Regions from separate parts of the Homo sapiens genome. Here all the other regions are linked to region 1. The links are contacts of gene promoters, found by promoter capture Hi-C in blood cells and fetal thymus (Javierre and others, 2016). All regions are on one chromosome and are shown on one strand. Each heading gives the region's core, a stretch centred on a gene start or on the middle of the fragment in contact. The rest is flanking DNA. Distances are from core to core; before and after follow the strand shown. Region 1 holds the start of KRT23 (keratin 23). Region 2 has its middle 4.8 kb from the start of KRT32. Region 3 has its middle 12 kb from the start of KRT38.

The links. Contacts are between HindIII fragments. The CHiCAGO score rates a contact against its expected background, and 5 or more counts as called.
Region 2: a fragment that was not itself captured here is called in contact with the fragment with the promoter of KRT23 in region 1 in 4 of 17 cell types (naive CD8 T cells, activated CD4 T cells, total CD8 T cells and 1 more); the score reaches 8.0 in naive CD8 T cells.
Region 3: a fragment that was not itself captured here is called in contact with the fragment with the promoter of KRT23 in region 1 in 10 of 17 cell types (activated CD4 T cells, total B cells, naive B cells and 7 more); the score reaches 8.2 in activated CD4 T cells.

What each region holds. Positions count from the first base shown.
Region 1 is chr17:40,934,982-40,939,745 of GRCh38, reverse strand. KRT23 (keratin 23) reads left to right here and starts at 2,100. Exons shown (of 9, transcript NM_015515.5): 1 at 2,100-2,400; 2 at 2,793-3,538. The coding sequence starts at 3,143. All of the region lies in intron 1 of LOC107985072 (a long non-coding RNA gene), which reads right to left. The HindIII fragment of the contact is 1,536 bases long and covers 1,011-2,546 here.
Region 2 is chr17:41,469,821-41,474,584 of GRCh38, reverse strand. No RefSeq gene overlaps it. Among named protein-coding and RNA genes, the nearest start is that of KRT32, 4.8 kb to the right of the region's middle. The HindIII fragment of the contact is 4,488 bases long and covers 402-4,764 here.
Region 3 is chr17:41,450,712-41,455,475 of GRCh38, reverse strand. No RefSeq gene overlaps it. Among named protein-coding and RNA genes, the nearest start is that of KRT38, 12 kb to the right of the region's middle. The HindIII fragment of the contact is 1,558 bases long and covers 1,241-2,798 here.

The DNA of each region.
Region 1 (4,764 bases), core at 851-3,350:
GTGGCACGCACCTGTGGTCCCGGCTACTCGGGAGGCTGAGGCAGAAGAATCGCTTGAACCCGGGAGGTGGAGGTTGCAGTGAGCCACGATCACATCACTGCACTCCAGCCTGGGCGACAGGGCGAGACTCTGTCTCAAAAAAAAAAAAAAGAAGTTATGGAAAATTGGCTGGGCAGGGTGGCTCATGCCTGTAATCCCAGCACTTTGGGAGGCCAAGGCAGGCAGATCATGAGGTCAGGAGTTCAAGACCAGCCTGGCCAACATGGTGAAACCCCGTCTCTACTAAAAATACAAAAAATTAGCTGGGCATGGTGGTGCGCACCTGTAATCCTAGCTACTCGGGAGGCTGAGGCAGGAGAATCGCTTGAACCCAGGAGGCGGAGGTTGCAGTGAGTCAAGATTGCGCCATTGCACTCCAGCCTGGGTGACAGAGCAAAACTCCATCTTGAGAAAAAAAAAAAAAGAAGTTATGGGAAACCATCATATAACAGTACTAGAAGAGACTATTTCTCCCCAGTGCTCTCAGATCTCACCACCAGTTTTTCCTGGCCCTGGTCCTGCTATGACACAAGAAATCTTTTGCTCAAGGATAAGTCCTATAAATCAAAACTCCCACACATGGACATAAAATGAGACAGTGGCCAAATCTATGGGGTTGATAAGTCACTGCCACTCAGACATGCCTGAAATAATTAGAGAAGCATTAATTTCATTGTAGATTCTGGTGAGAGAATTTAGAAAAAGGCAGTGCAGCCCGGCCCTTGCACATGCTAAAGGTAAATGTTTTCTTCCTTGGTAAGTCTGGGTCCAGGCGAACAGGAACCAGAGCTGACCATAACTTTGATGACCAGGAACCGTCCACATCCACAGAACACTGGTTGCCACCACTCGCCAAACAAGTCTCTCTAGTTCCCTCATTTGCTCTATTTTTATCACTTGTCTCTTTTGTCTTTTTCTCATATCTGAGATGTAAGTGACTGTCGGCACTCTTTCTAAGCACTCTCCAAGCTTCCCTGAGGCTTGGAGGCTCATTTTTCCAGCTCGTGCACAGTGAAATAAAAAATATTCAGAGACTCTTCCCTGATAAGGTTTTGTTGTAAGACTGGGAGGAGCAGAGCTGGTGTGCTTTTGGGTGGCTTTATTTGTAATTGGAAAAGATTGGCCTTCATGGATGGTTAATCTATACCCAGGAGAGGCGTTTTCCTACTTTCTAGTTCTATAACTCACAGTCCTAAAAGGAGCAGAAGTTGATGGCATCAGGAGACCTGTGTTAAAATCCTGACTCTAAAAAGTTTATGATTGAGTCAACATACATTTGCAAAATACCACCAAGAAACCAGACTTTGGTGCTCAAAAATGGAAGACATAAACTCTGCTTTCAAGAAGCCTGCGGTCTCAGAAGGGTGTGGCAAATGCAGTATAATGGAGTGAAAGAACGGAGTGGACTTCATCCCAGGCACAGGAGGTGGCTGCGCCTGGCTAGGGGCTCCCAGCTTCCACCATGAGGTGGGATGCCAAGGTGTCTGCCCCTCTGGAGGACCTCGGCATCCAGAAGAGGCAGTTTCCTCCTAGAGGGTCACCCAACTCATGCAGGAGAATTCAGAAAATGATTGTTGAAGGAGGTAGCCCTTGAACTATAGAAGAGGTAGGGGTGAGTGACTTTCCAGGCAGGGAGGACAGCACAGACTCGGGCAGTGTCACCTATGAATTCATGTGCTCAATTACACTGTACATGCGAATCAGCTCTGGATCATTCATCCCTATGAGACCCTGATTCTTTGTCTGCAAAATGAAGACAACAACCCTTGCCTGGATACATAAAGAGTTGTGAGGATTCAATAAAGAATATAAAAGAGCTACACCAATTGGCAAGTCCTATTATTATGAAAGAGAAGTGTGGTACAGGACCTGTCAAGATTCAACCCAAGATAACAGTGCTATGTGGAGAAAGAATCTAGCCCTGGCTCTGCCACTAACCTCCCCACCACCATAGGCCTCAGCTTTCCTCATCTGTCCAATTAGTGGCTTGGAACCAGAAAGGCCAGAAGCCCTTCCTGCGCTGATATTTTATTTGTAAGTCCCCTTTAAATCCAACTGCCAGTAACTAGCACGTGGCTCCCGCCCCCAGACTGCTTCTTTATTCATTCCTAACCTTTACCTTGGCAGATGAAATATAAGATTCATCAACCACATTTGACAGCCCATGGCAGGTTTCCTGTTTTCCATCGTCCCTCTGCAGGTCACAGACACACAGAGCCCAGCCGTGGCAGGCTCAGCCGGGGTCCGGGGCTGCTAACAACGGCTACATTCCTCCCCCAGGGCCAAGGGAAATCCTGAGCGCAGGCCAGGGTTGTTTGGTTTTGAGGTGTGCTGGGATGAAAGGCACCCTGGAAGTGGAAGGTTCGGTCATTCATTAATTAATTACATCTATAATTGAGGGTTTGTTCTTAAGAGCGAGTCCTTTGAAAGTACTTTCCTTCAAACAGTGACTGCCACAAAGGCATCAGATATTCACCACCTTCTCGGCTGCCTCAGCACAGCAAGCTTTATTCTGGGACCTGAGATCCTGTTCTGAGCTGGCTTTCCCTTCTCCAGGCTCGCTCACCCTCCCTTTAGAGGTGGGGCTTATTGGGGGTGGAAAAAGGTGTGTGTATCTCTGTTGTTTAATGTCTGGTTTTTTGTTGCTGTTGTTGTTGTTTTGTTTTGGTTTTGGTTTTTGGTTTTTTTTAAGGAAATCTATACTACATCGAATATGCTTTCTTTTGGGTGGACTTTAACCTAACCCATTCCAGGTAAATGAACAATGGAAAAACTTCACGGCAAGATTAGAAAGATACCTGAGCCCAATACCCGCCTGATGTCGTGGGCCACACCTCCGGGTTACCAGGGGAAGGGAGGAAGCAAACTGTCATATTGATGTGGCTCTAAACAACAACAGTGTGCGAAGGCCCAGGGGCACTTTGGGATTGACCAAGAGGAAACACAAGTTGCACAATGATACAATCTTGTTGGTACAATTGTCAGAGAAGGGAACTCCCACAGCAAAGGCCATAAAACCATCCAGGGCAGTCTGGGGCGGCTCAGTTCTGCGGTGCCAGGGAGTGGAGCAGAGCTCAGCCCCGTCCCAAACACAGATGGGACCATGAACTCCGGACACAGCTTCAGCCAGACCCCCTCGGCCTCCTTCCATGGCGCCGGAGGTGGCTGGGGCCGGCCCAGGAGCTTCCCCAGGGCTCCCACCGTCCATGGCGGTGCGGGGGGAGCCCGCATCTCCCTGTCCTTCACCACGCGGAGCTGCCCACCCCCTGGAGGGTCTTGGGGTTCTGGAAGAAGCAGCCCCCTACTAGGCGGAAATGGGAAGGCCACCATGCAGAATCTCAACGACCGCCTGGCCTCCTACCTGGAGAAGGTTCGCGCCCTGGAGGAGGCCAACATGAAGCTGGAAAGCCGCATCCTGAAATGGCACCAGCAGAGAGATCCTGGCAGTAAGAAAGATTATTCCCAGTATGAGGAAAACATCACACACCTGCAGGAGCAGGTAAGATGCTGGGTGACCCTGGAGATCCAGATGGGGCTGCTTTGCCAGGGGACCCTCGGGAGGAAAAATGAGTCCAGAAGACAATTTCCAGGAAAATGGCATCAGCGCTTGAAGTAATTGTGCACAAAGGTTTTGGGGGATGTTTTCTTATTATATCTTAAATTTGGAGTGGGAAACGTCTGTTTTGTTTAATTAGTCTACTGTCCATGGATAATGTAGAAAAAGAAGGCAGCAAAAATGATAGAAGTGCTACAGACTGTTTCAAAAATGAGACTACTGATTTCTCACAGACCAAAAACATCTTTAAAATGTGAGGCAACCAGCTGCTGTTTAATGTCACTTATGACCCAACGATGTCATAGAAATGATAAGGGCTGGTGTTCATGCTGCATGCTCAGTGCACCAGGCATAAGAGAGTGTTTACTTTCTCATTACCTCAGTTCTGCTCCACCTCAAACTTTTTTGAACAATGTGGTTATCCATCGACAAAAGGCTGTTACACTATTTTGAAGATTATGCCTAAAAGTTGTCACCACACCAGCATATAGGTCATCATGACATCCCTAGATATTTCCGTTTGTGGGTTGCTTGCAGTAAAGTTGCTCACAGTTCTGACAATGGCATATTGCTAGAACCAATAATAATAAAATGAGCATAATTTTTAGAATCTGAGAGTTGAGATGGCTATAAAGACCTTGTTCAAAAAAAACCGAACTCTTTAACCAAACCTCAAAAAAGCTAAGCAAATACCTTCTGGGATGTCTCATAACATTAGCTAGAAGTAGAAGGAATCCAATCATCTCATAGGTTATGTTTTAAAGCTATCTAACTCCCCTCTTATATAAAGCAGTCCCAGAAAATTCCCTGTAAGACCATGATTTAACCTCCCCTAGAAAGGGTATCACAAGTTTCCAATATTTATATATATTATTTCACAATGCTCAGTCATCCTTGCTTGAATGTAGGAAGGACCAGTCAAGATAATATAAATCTGTCCTTGTAATGAACCCTAATTATTGAATAATCAACCTAATAACTGACTGTAATTACCTTAACTATATAGTGCATGGTTGTCTTTATGAAAAAAAAAAAAAAACAAGGTGACTCAACAGTCCTCATCATGTTTTTTTGTTTAATAAAGTTGCTTTGGTTGTAGAAAGGAGGAATTGAAGATTTTTGCAAATGGAGAGCAAAGGGAGACCATGACTCCCAAAAGAAATACAAGG
Region 2 (4,764 bases), core at 1,396-3,895, 530 kb before region 1:
AGAGGAACTTTTGGCAACACAGCTGGGAGTGCAGAGGGCTCAGGGCAACTCTGACATAGACCCTAGCACCCCCAGGTCTGGTCCCTATTATGCTTTTGACTTTCTCAGTTCTGGCATTTCTCTCTCTTTCGACTTCAAATTTTTGAACTGCATTTTAAATTTGTTATATTTTTTTCTCCAAAAAGTCATTTTTTTTCTCTGTTTGCTCCTGTTTTATAACATTTAGTTCTTGTTTCATGGCTATAACTGCTATATGTATATACATCTCTCCCACTCTGAGGTTATTTAAAAAATATATATATATACAGTTTTGGATTCTGCATTATTTCTGTTTTCTTCAATTTCCTTTTTTACTGTTTTGTTTGTTTGCTTGTTTTACTTTGTCTTTAATATTGGAAGCTTCCTTCAAGTATCTGGTCATCCTTTTGTTTATATTTTATGACGAGACACTAAAAAGCTGATAGAAGGTGCTACGTGGATGGGCAGGTTGGAAAACCGGCTTTTTGCATGGTACAACCACCTCAGTTCAGTTTCTGTAAGTCTTTTCTCTGGAGTTTTATTTTTTTTCCAAAGAAGGAGCCTCTGGTTTTCTGCGGGGGAATGAATGGAGGGAGACAGTGCTGGCCCAGGCTGTGACACACATCCTATCTGCTTTTGTTGAAACAGGCCCTTCCTCCTGGATTCTTTGCATCCCTTTCTCTTCTCTTCCTAAACTTATTTTCCTGATAGTTTGCTCTGGCCCCAGAGAGGTTGGGGTACAGTGGAAAGTCTTTGGATCAGCCAGACCTGGGCCTGAGAACTGACAGTGCCCCACTTTCTCTGTGGCTACCTTTCCTAGACCCTACTTCTCCATCTTCACGACATACCCCAGATCTGGCATATTGCCTGGAACTGTGGTCTTCTGTGACTTTGGATGCTGCTGCTACTACCTTTATCAATCCGCTCTTTTTTTTTTTTTGAGACGGAGTCTCGCTCTGTGGCCCAGGCTGGAGTACACTGGCGCAATCTCGGCTCACTGCAAGCTCTTCCTCCCGGGTTCACGCCATTCTCCTGCCTCAGCCTCCCAAGTAGCTGGGACTACAGGTGCTCGCCACCAAGCCCAGCTAATTTTTTTGCATTTTTAGTAGAGACGGGGTTTCACCGTGTTAGCCAGGATGGTCTTGATCTCCTGACCTCGTGATCTGCCCGCCTGGGCATCCCAAAGTGCTGGGATTATAGGTGTGAGCCACTGCACCTGGCCTCAATCTGCTTTTATATGAAACCTGGTCTTTCCTTCACAACGGAAAACTCTGCTCACGCTGGCATTTGGGACTGCACCTCACAGCGACAGCCTCTCAGCATCATCCTGGAGCCCCTGCTCCTGGTTCCTGTCTCTCTCCTCCTCATTCCTTCCTTCCAGGATTGTCCTGTGAACTTCAAATCCTTCTCTCCTTTCACCCTCTGATGTCTTACCAGCCAAATCAAGGCATTAGGGTCCCACCTTTTAACCCAAGATCTTCTTAATGTAGTTTCCCAAGTAAAGACATTTTTTTTCCTGCAAGATGAATTCTGGTGACAGCTGTTAAAATATATGCAGGCACACTTCGATTTATTGAGTTTCAATTTATTATACTTCCCAGATATCGTTTTTTTTTCTTTTTTCTTTCTTTTTTTTTTTTTTTTTTTACAAATTAAAGTTTTGTGCCAATCCTGCCTAGAGCAAGTCTGTTGGTGCTAATTTTTCCAACAGCATGTGCTTATGTGTCTCTGTGTCACATTTTGGTAATTCTCACAATACAAATTTTTTCTTTTTCTTTTTTTTTGAGACAGAATCTGGCTGTCTGCCCAGGCTGGAGTGCAGTGGCGTGATCTCGGCTCACTGCAACCTCTGCCTCCTGGGTTCAAGCAATTCTCGTGCCTCAGCCTCCCAAGTAGCTGGGATTACAGGCACACCACGCCTGGCTAATTTTTGTAATTTCAGTAGAGATGGGGTTTCGTCATGTTGGCCAGGCTGGTCTCGAACTCTTGACCTCAAGTGATCTGCCCACCTCAGCCTCCCAAAGTGCTGGGATTACAGGTGTGAGCCACTGCGGCTGGCCAAACTTTTTCATTATTGTATGTGTTATGGTGATCTGTGGTCAGTAATCTTTGATATTACTGTTGTAATTGTTCTGGGATGCACCAAACCATGCCCAGATAAGATGGGGAACCTAACTGATAAACGTTGCGTGCGTTCTGATGGCTCCACCAACTGGCCATTCCCCCATCTCTCTCCCTATTTTGGGTCTACCTATTTTCTGAGACACAGCAATATTGAAATTAGGCCAATTAATAACCCTACCGTGGCTTCTAAGAGTTCAAGTGAAAGGAAAAGTTGCAGGTTTCTCCCTTTAAATAAAAAGCTAGAAATGATGAAGTTTAGGGAGGCGGCATCTTTCATAGCTAGACAGGAGGAGTCTGCCTTCAAAACCTTCAAAGGATGGGCTGACTCTCTTGCTAGGAGCTAATGCAGCTGATGACTTCAAGTGGGAAGTCAATGCTCATTTACCATTCTGAATATCCTAGGGCACTTAAGAATGATGCTAAATCTTTTCTGCCTGTGCACTACAAACGGAACGACAAAGCCTGGACGACAGTGCATCTGTTTATAACATGGTTTACTGAATATTTTAAGCCCACTGTTGAGACCTACTGCTTAGAATAAAAGGTTTCTTTCAAAATATTTCTGCTCATTGACAATGCATCTGATCACCCAAGAGCCCTGATGGAGCTGTCCAAGGAGATTAATGTTTTTGTGTTTGCCAACACAACATCCATTCCACAGCCCATGGATCAAAAACTAATTTTGACTTTCAAGTCTTATTACCTAAGAAATATATTTCATAAGGCTATAGCTGCCATACAGAGTGATTCCTCTGATGGATCTGGGCAAAGTAAATTGAAAACCTTCTGAAGAGGATTCACTATTCTATATGTCAATATTTGTGATTCAAGAGAGGAGGTCAAAATATCAACATTAACAGGAGTTTGGAAGAAGTTGATTCCAACTCTCATGTATGATGTTGAGGGGCTTAAGACTTCAGCAGAGGAAGTAACTATAGATGTGTTGGAAACAGCAAGAGAATTAAAATTAGAATTGGAGCCTGAAGATGTGACTGAATTGTTGCCATGTTATGGCAAAACGAACGGATGAGGAACTGCTTCTTATTCATGAACAAAGAAAGTGGTTTCTTGAGATGGAAACTACTCCTGGTGAAGATGCTGTGAACATCACTGAAATGGCAACAAAGGATTTGGAATACTACATCAATTTAGTTAATAAGGCAGTGGCAGGGTTTGAGAGGACTGACCCTAGTTTTGAAAGAATTTCTACTGTTAAAATGCTATCAAACAGCATCACATGCTACAGGGAAATCTTTCATGAAAGGAAGAGTCAACTGATGCGGCAAACTTCACTGATGTCTCATTTTCAGAAATTGCCACAGCCACACTAACTTGCAGCAATCATCACCCTGATCAGTCCTCAGCCATCAACATTGAGGCAAGACCTTCCACCAGCAAAAAGATTATAACTTGCTGAAGGCTCAGATGATCCTTAGCATTTTTAGCAATAAAGCATTTTTAAAATTAAGTTATATACATTGTTTTTAGGCCATAATGCTATGGTACACTTAATAGACTATAGTATAGTGTAAATATAATGTTTACATACACAGAAAAACCAAAAAGTTTGTGTGACTCACTTTATGGTTACATTTGCTTTATTGTGGTGGTCTAGAACTGAACATGCACTATCTCTGAGGTATGCCTGTATCTTCCTCTATCTCAGTGGGTCTCCAAACCACCTGAAGGACATGCTAAACACAGGCTGCTGCATCCCAGCCCCAGCCTCAGAGTTTCTGATTCAGCCAGTCTGGGATGAGCCTGAAAAACTGCATTTCTTTTTTTTTTACATTTTATTTTTATTTTTATCAAAGCAGTGTATCTACATTGTTTAAATAAAACAACATTAAATAGCAAATATTTAAAAACTGCAACATCTATGCCTTCTTTCTTTCTTTATTGTTATTATACTTTAAGTTTTAGGGTACATGTGCACAATGTGCAGGTTAGTTACATATGTATACATGTGCCATGCTGGTGTGCTGCACCCACTAACTCGTCATCTAGCATTAGGTATATCTCCCAATGCTATCTCTCCCCCGTCCCCCCACCCCACAACAAATGAGAACACATGGACACAGGAAGGGGAACATCACACTCTTTTTTTTAAAAATTTTACTTTAAGTTCTGGGATGCATTTGCAGAATGTGCAGGTTTGTTGCATAGGTATACATGTGCCATGGTGGTTTGCTGCACCTATCAACCCATCATCTAGGTTTTAAGCCCCGCATGCATTAGGTATTTGTTCTAATGCTCTCTCTCCCCTTGCCCCCCATCCCCCGACAGGCCCTGGTGTGTGATGTTCCCCTCCCTGTGTCCATGTGTTCTCATTGTTCAACTCCCACTTATGAGTGAGAACATGTGGTGTTCGGTTTTCTGTTCCTGTGTTGGTTTGCTAAGAATGATGGTTTCCAGCTTCATCCATGTCCCTGCAAAAGACACGAACTCATTCTTTTTTATGGCTGCATAGTATTTCATGGTATATATGTGCCACATTTTCTTTATCCAGTCTGTCATTGATGGGCATTTGGGTTGGTTCCAAGTCTTTGCTATTGTAAATAGTGCTGCAATAAACATACTTGTGCATGTGTCTTTATAGTAGAAAGATTTATAATCCTTTGG
Region 3 (4,764 bases), core at 770-3,269, 520 kb before region 1:
ATGCTTTGGCAACAAATTTCTCTTCTCTTCTGACTTTCCCCAATTACAATGGCAGCTGAGTCATATTTTGGAGCCATTCTGAAGCCCAAGTTTCAGAAACAACAACAGCAGCAGCAGCAGCAGCAACAACAACATATGGGTAGCTTTGCTTTGCTCTAAGAGCATTGGATGAACTTCCAGTCTTGGTGTAAATGCCCTGGTAGAGTGAAGGCCCTGGTGTCTGAGGCTCAGCGTCCAGTCCTGGAGTTCACCATCCATTCCCAGGTGCCCTCCCTCTGCCCAGCCCTCTGGCTCCAGAGCGGACTGAAGGTCTCCCACATGCTTAAGGGGTCCAATTTTTAAGCCTCATTCACTGTGCTGTGTGAAGCAGGGATGGCAACTACAGCTCACAGGTCAAACCCCACTGCTACTTGTTTTGGTAAATCAAGTTTTATTGGAGCATAGCCACACCCATTCATTTCCCTGTTGTCTATGTCTGCTTTGTGCTACAATGGCAGAGCTAAGTAGTTGCAGTACAAAGAGAGTATACGACTTGCAAAGCCTAAAATATTTAGCATCTGTCTTTTTAACAGAAAAAGCTTGTCCATCTTGGTGCAGAGGAAACAGAATGTGCTAGGGGCCCTGGGACCAGTCCTGGCTCTGTATCTGACTTGCTTGGCATCCCTGGGGAGCTCACTGTCCTTCTCTGGTCTCTGAAGCACGAAAGGTTGAATTAGTACTTGGAAGTTTTCTTTAGTTCTAATAACTTAGCAGTCTTTGCTCTATTGCTCTTTAGGGATTCCTGAGGCTCTTATCAGAGAATTTTACTTTTTTGGGTATTGAAGGTCAGTGGAGAGGACGATTCATCTTAGAGCCAATGCCATTCCTAGAGAGAGGCCAGATAGTCACTCAAGGAACAAAGTCTAACTTTTCAATGGGGCATCTCTAAAGAGAAAACATTTAACATTTCTTTTCACAACAGAAGGCAGTAACAAGAAGTCCAAAGTCAGCCCTTTCTTTCATAAAGTGGGGAGCTACTTCTGAGGACTGAATAACTGCTGATGGGTTGTTCTGATGGCAGAACAAATGAGGATTCATTGGGGGAAAGCTTGTGTATCACATCTGCTCCTATGGCAGGTGAATAAAAGCTCTGGGTGAGGAAACACTCACACCTGAGCACCTGGCCCTTGTCACCAATCTGCAACTCAACTGTCTAGGACCATGGCTTCTAGTTAAAGCAGAAATCCCTGCTCCTCAAGCTTTGGCAAGAGCCATTTGAAGCCTCCTTGCTCCAGACAGGCTGTGGCCAGAAACCACTCTAGAAACTCTGTACCCAATGTCTGTAGATCCCAGTATTAAGACTGGGGCCCACCTGTAAGAGAGTCACCAACCTAGTAGCCATCTCCTTAGAACCTGTGGCTCACAGTCAGTCCAGCCTGGCCCTGCCAGCAGTCACTCTGCCTGTCCTCTGCCAGGGACCAGGAACATCCCTGCCAGTATGGGCACCTGTGGCTGGTTCAGTGAAGACATCCTCAGCAGCAGTGGGAAAGGGATCATGCAGTTCTTAAGTGAGTGCCTGGCCAACTGCTTGCAGAAGTTGCAGCAGTTGGAGCAGGAGAATGAGAAGCAGGGGTGGTGCTGAGAGCCAGCAGTGGAGCAAACGGCAGTGCCCTGACATATGCTCCAATTACTGCTCACACTTTGAGACCATTAAGGAGCTCCAACAAAAAGTAAGATGAGGCCTTGAGCTCTGGTGTCAGTGGCATGGAAAGAGAGGGCTGAGGATTGGTGATGGGAGAATTGGAGGGGTTGCCTGGGGGGATGACAGTCCATGAATGTTCATAAAGATGGATTGAAGGTGCCAGAAATAAACTGTGATGTCAAGGGCCCAACCACTTGGTTCTACAACCAGTTCCATTCAACAAGCATCATTGCTGATGTCTGCAATGAGAGGACTGTGAGTGGGATATGGATTTATTTCTTCACAATCCAGATCCTGCCTTATTTAAGGACATGCCACCATTCACTCACTAGTTATTGAGCACCAGCAATGAGTGATTGCATCGCTGGGTGCTGGGGAGCAGACAGTGCCTACAAAATGAAGCCTCAGCTCTTTAGCCTGGCATTCAAGGCTGCCATGTTCTCAGCCTCACTTTTTTTTGTAGCTTACCTCTTTCTAATCTTCTGCAAACATCCTGTGCTTCTATCAAACTGCTTTGTCACTTGCCCTATGCTTCTGTCAAACTGCGTTGTCACTCACAAAATGTTTGTTCACATGTGTAGTGCTTTCTTTCTCATCTTTGCATGGCCAAATTCTAGTTGGGCTTCAAAACCCAGGTGATATTCCCCACCTCCTGGAATCCTCTCTAGAAGCTAATCCCCCTGGGATGGATTTTGCCTTCCATGGAATAACCCACAGCCGCATATCTGAACGTCTCTTGTGGCATTCTCATCTTTCTATTTGTTTTGGAGTTCCTGTTCTGTACAAGATGGTGGAAAGGATGAACAACCTAACTTCATTTTTAAAAAATTAATCACATTTATTTAGTATTTTCCATTAAGTGCTGATATTCAGCTGGGATGTAGCAGTCTGTCTCTGTGGCCGTTTCCACATCTCCTTTTAGATTGCTGCCAACAGTGGTTATAATATTTCTGAAATCATCCTTGATTCTACTAAATGTCAAACCTGAACTGGGAATTTTCACATACCTTTTTTCTTTGAACCATTTCAGCAATCCTCTAAGGTGGATATTATTATTTCTATTTTATCTAAAAAGAATAGAGCACCTTTATTAAGAGCTCACTAGATGTCAGAAGCTTTGCTAAACATATATGCTTGGTTGCATTTAATCCTTACAAGGATTTGATGAAGCAGATAGAATCACGTTTTCCATTTTACAGATGGGAAGATTTTAAGCTTCAGGGGGTTAGAAGCTATGCCTAAAGTCTCAGAGCTGGTAAACTGCCAAGCTGCGTGACACAGGTCCACTTAACCACTGTGTTGGTGCCTTTGAGGAAGTGGATGAGGAGAAAAAGGGAGGGTGAGTGAACCAGAAGCATGTCTTGGCTGTGCAGAGCTGGGTTTCAGTCCAAGGGGCTATCCCTTCAACCCCCTCACTGCTGCCCAGACCTGACCAATGGAGCCCACAGTAGAGTGAGAAGTGAAACCCCATCTGTATCCCAGAGCGCAGCTAGTTTCGTTACAGATGGGAGCAAACCCTTGGATACTTGATGCTTAAAAATCCACCATAAGGAAAGATGGAAACGTCCCCATGTGGCTCAGATCACATTTTTTTTCATTCATTTTAGGGCCTGGGGAGAATTCCATGGAGAGCATCCTTGTGAAGCATGGTGTTTCTCATTCTCAGATCTCACCCAGGAGGGTAGGGAATGCTTGGTTGGCTGTCCAGGTGGACAATGTGAAAATAGCTGTGACAACTTTAGGACAGAGAGAGTCTGACAGGAGCTGGGAACTGCTGCTCCCTGGTACTCTGTCCATCTCTTTCGTGTCAGGTACAGGTCTCTGTGGAGGAAGCAAAGGAGGGGCAGCCTTTGAAAAGAATCCCTCCAAGGAAATGTTTCCACCAACCTAAGAAGTATTAATAAAAAGATTCAGTCCCAAAGAATTTTAGGGGTAATTTAAGATGTGTTTGATTAAGATTGAGCCCTAATCAAGAATTAAGTCAGCTCCTGAAGGACAGGGTTAGGTCTCAACAGTCACAGTGGCATTAGTGAGTGTTCACAATGTTTAAGACTACACCAAAGTGCTGAATGTAGTTTATTCCATCTTCACAACAACCTTGTGAGCTAAGAATTGTTACCCTCATTTTACAGATGAGGATGTTGAGGCTCAGAGAAAGAAACTTGCTCAAAGGTACACCTGGCATAGGATGGCATTGAGACCCAAACCACATTCTACCTAAGCATGTAGTATTAATTGTGTAAGAGTTAAAGAAAGAAGAAAGAAACATGAAAAGTGGCTCAACAGTCAAAGACAGGTTTATTTTGGAGAATAAACCTGAGAGAGGCTTCTGGCTGATTTCAGTTAGGAGTGTTCTCTCTTACAGACTAAGGATATTTAAGGGTTTAGGAAGCTGGGAGCTTATCATAGGTTTGGAATGTTTCTACGTGAGGAAAAATTTATTGTGGGGTTGGAATGTCTTTGGTTAGAGGGGAAGCTATCTTGGGGTTGGCATGTTTCTGGTTGGAGGGGGGTTATCGTAGGGTTGGAATATTTCTGTTTATGCTGACATTAGCTATTAGACTGACATTTTGGGGCTGGATTTAGGCTACTTTTTTTTTAATCAAGGGAAACTTAAAATGGTGGTGTTTGTCTAAGATGGCGATGCTCCTGCTCTGTCAAATTGCTGTCTTTCATTGTGCACTAAAGTATCTGGTGGATAGTGAAAGATCAATAAGTATTTTCATATTTTATTTAGTATAGAAACATCCCCCCAATCAAAGCAGATGTACAAGTGCCTCTGGCCTGAGAAGAGCAAATGGAGAGGCATGCATGCTGAAAGACAGGCCACTGGCTTGGATGCTTATCTGCCACGTTTAGACAAGTGTCAGAGTTGGCTGGGCCCAGCCAATGAGTGGAGACCAACATAAACAGCCTGCACAGGCTCCTGGGTGATGTGGGTCTGCGCCAGGGAGAGCTGGAGGTGCAGTAAGAGTCCCTAAGGGAGGAGTTTCTGTGTTCGAAAAATAACCGTGAGCAGGTAGAAGCAACTAAGAAATGGCTGAGGCCAATTTCAGGGGGTTGACCAGGAAGAGCGACAGATC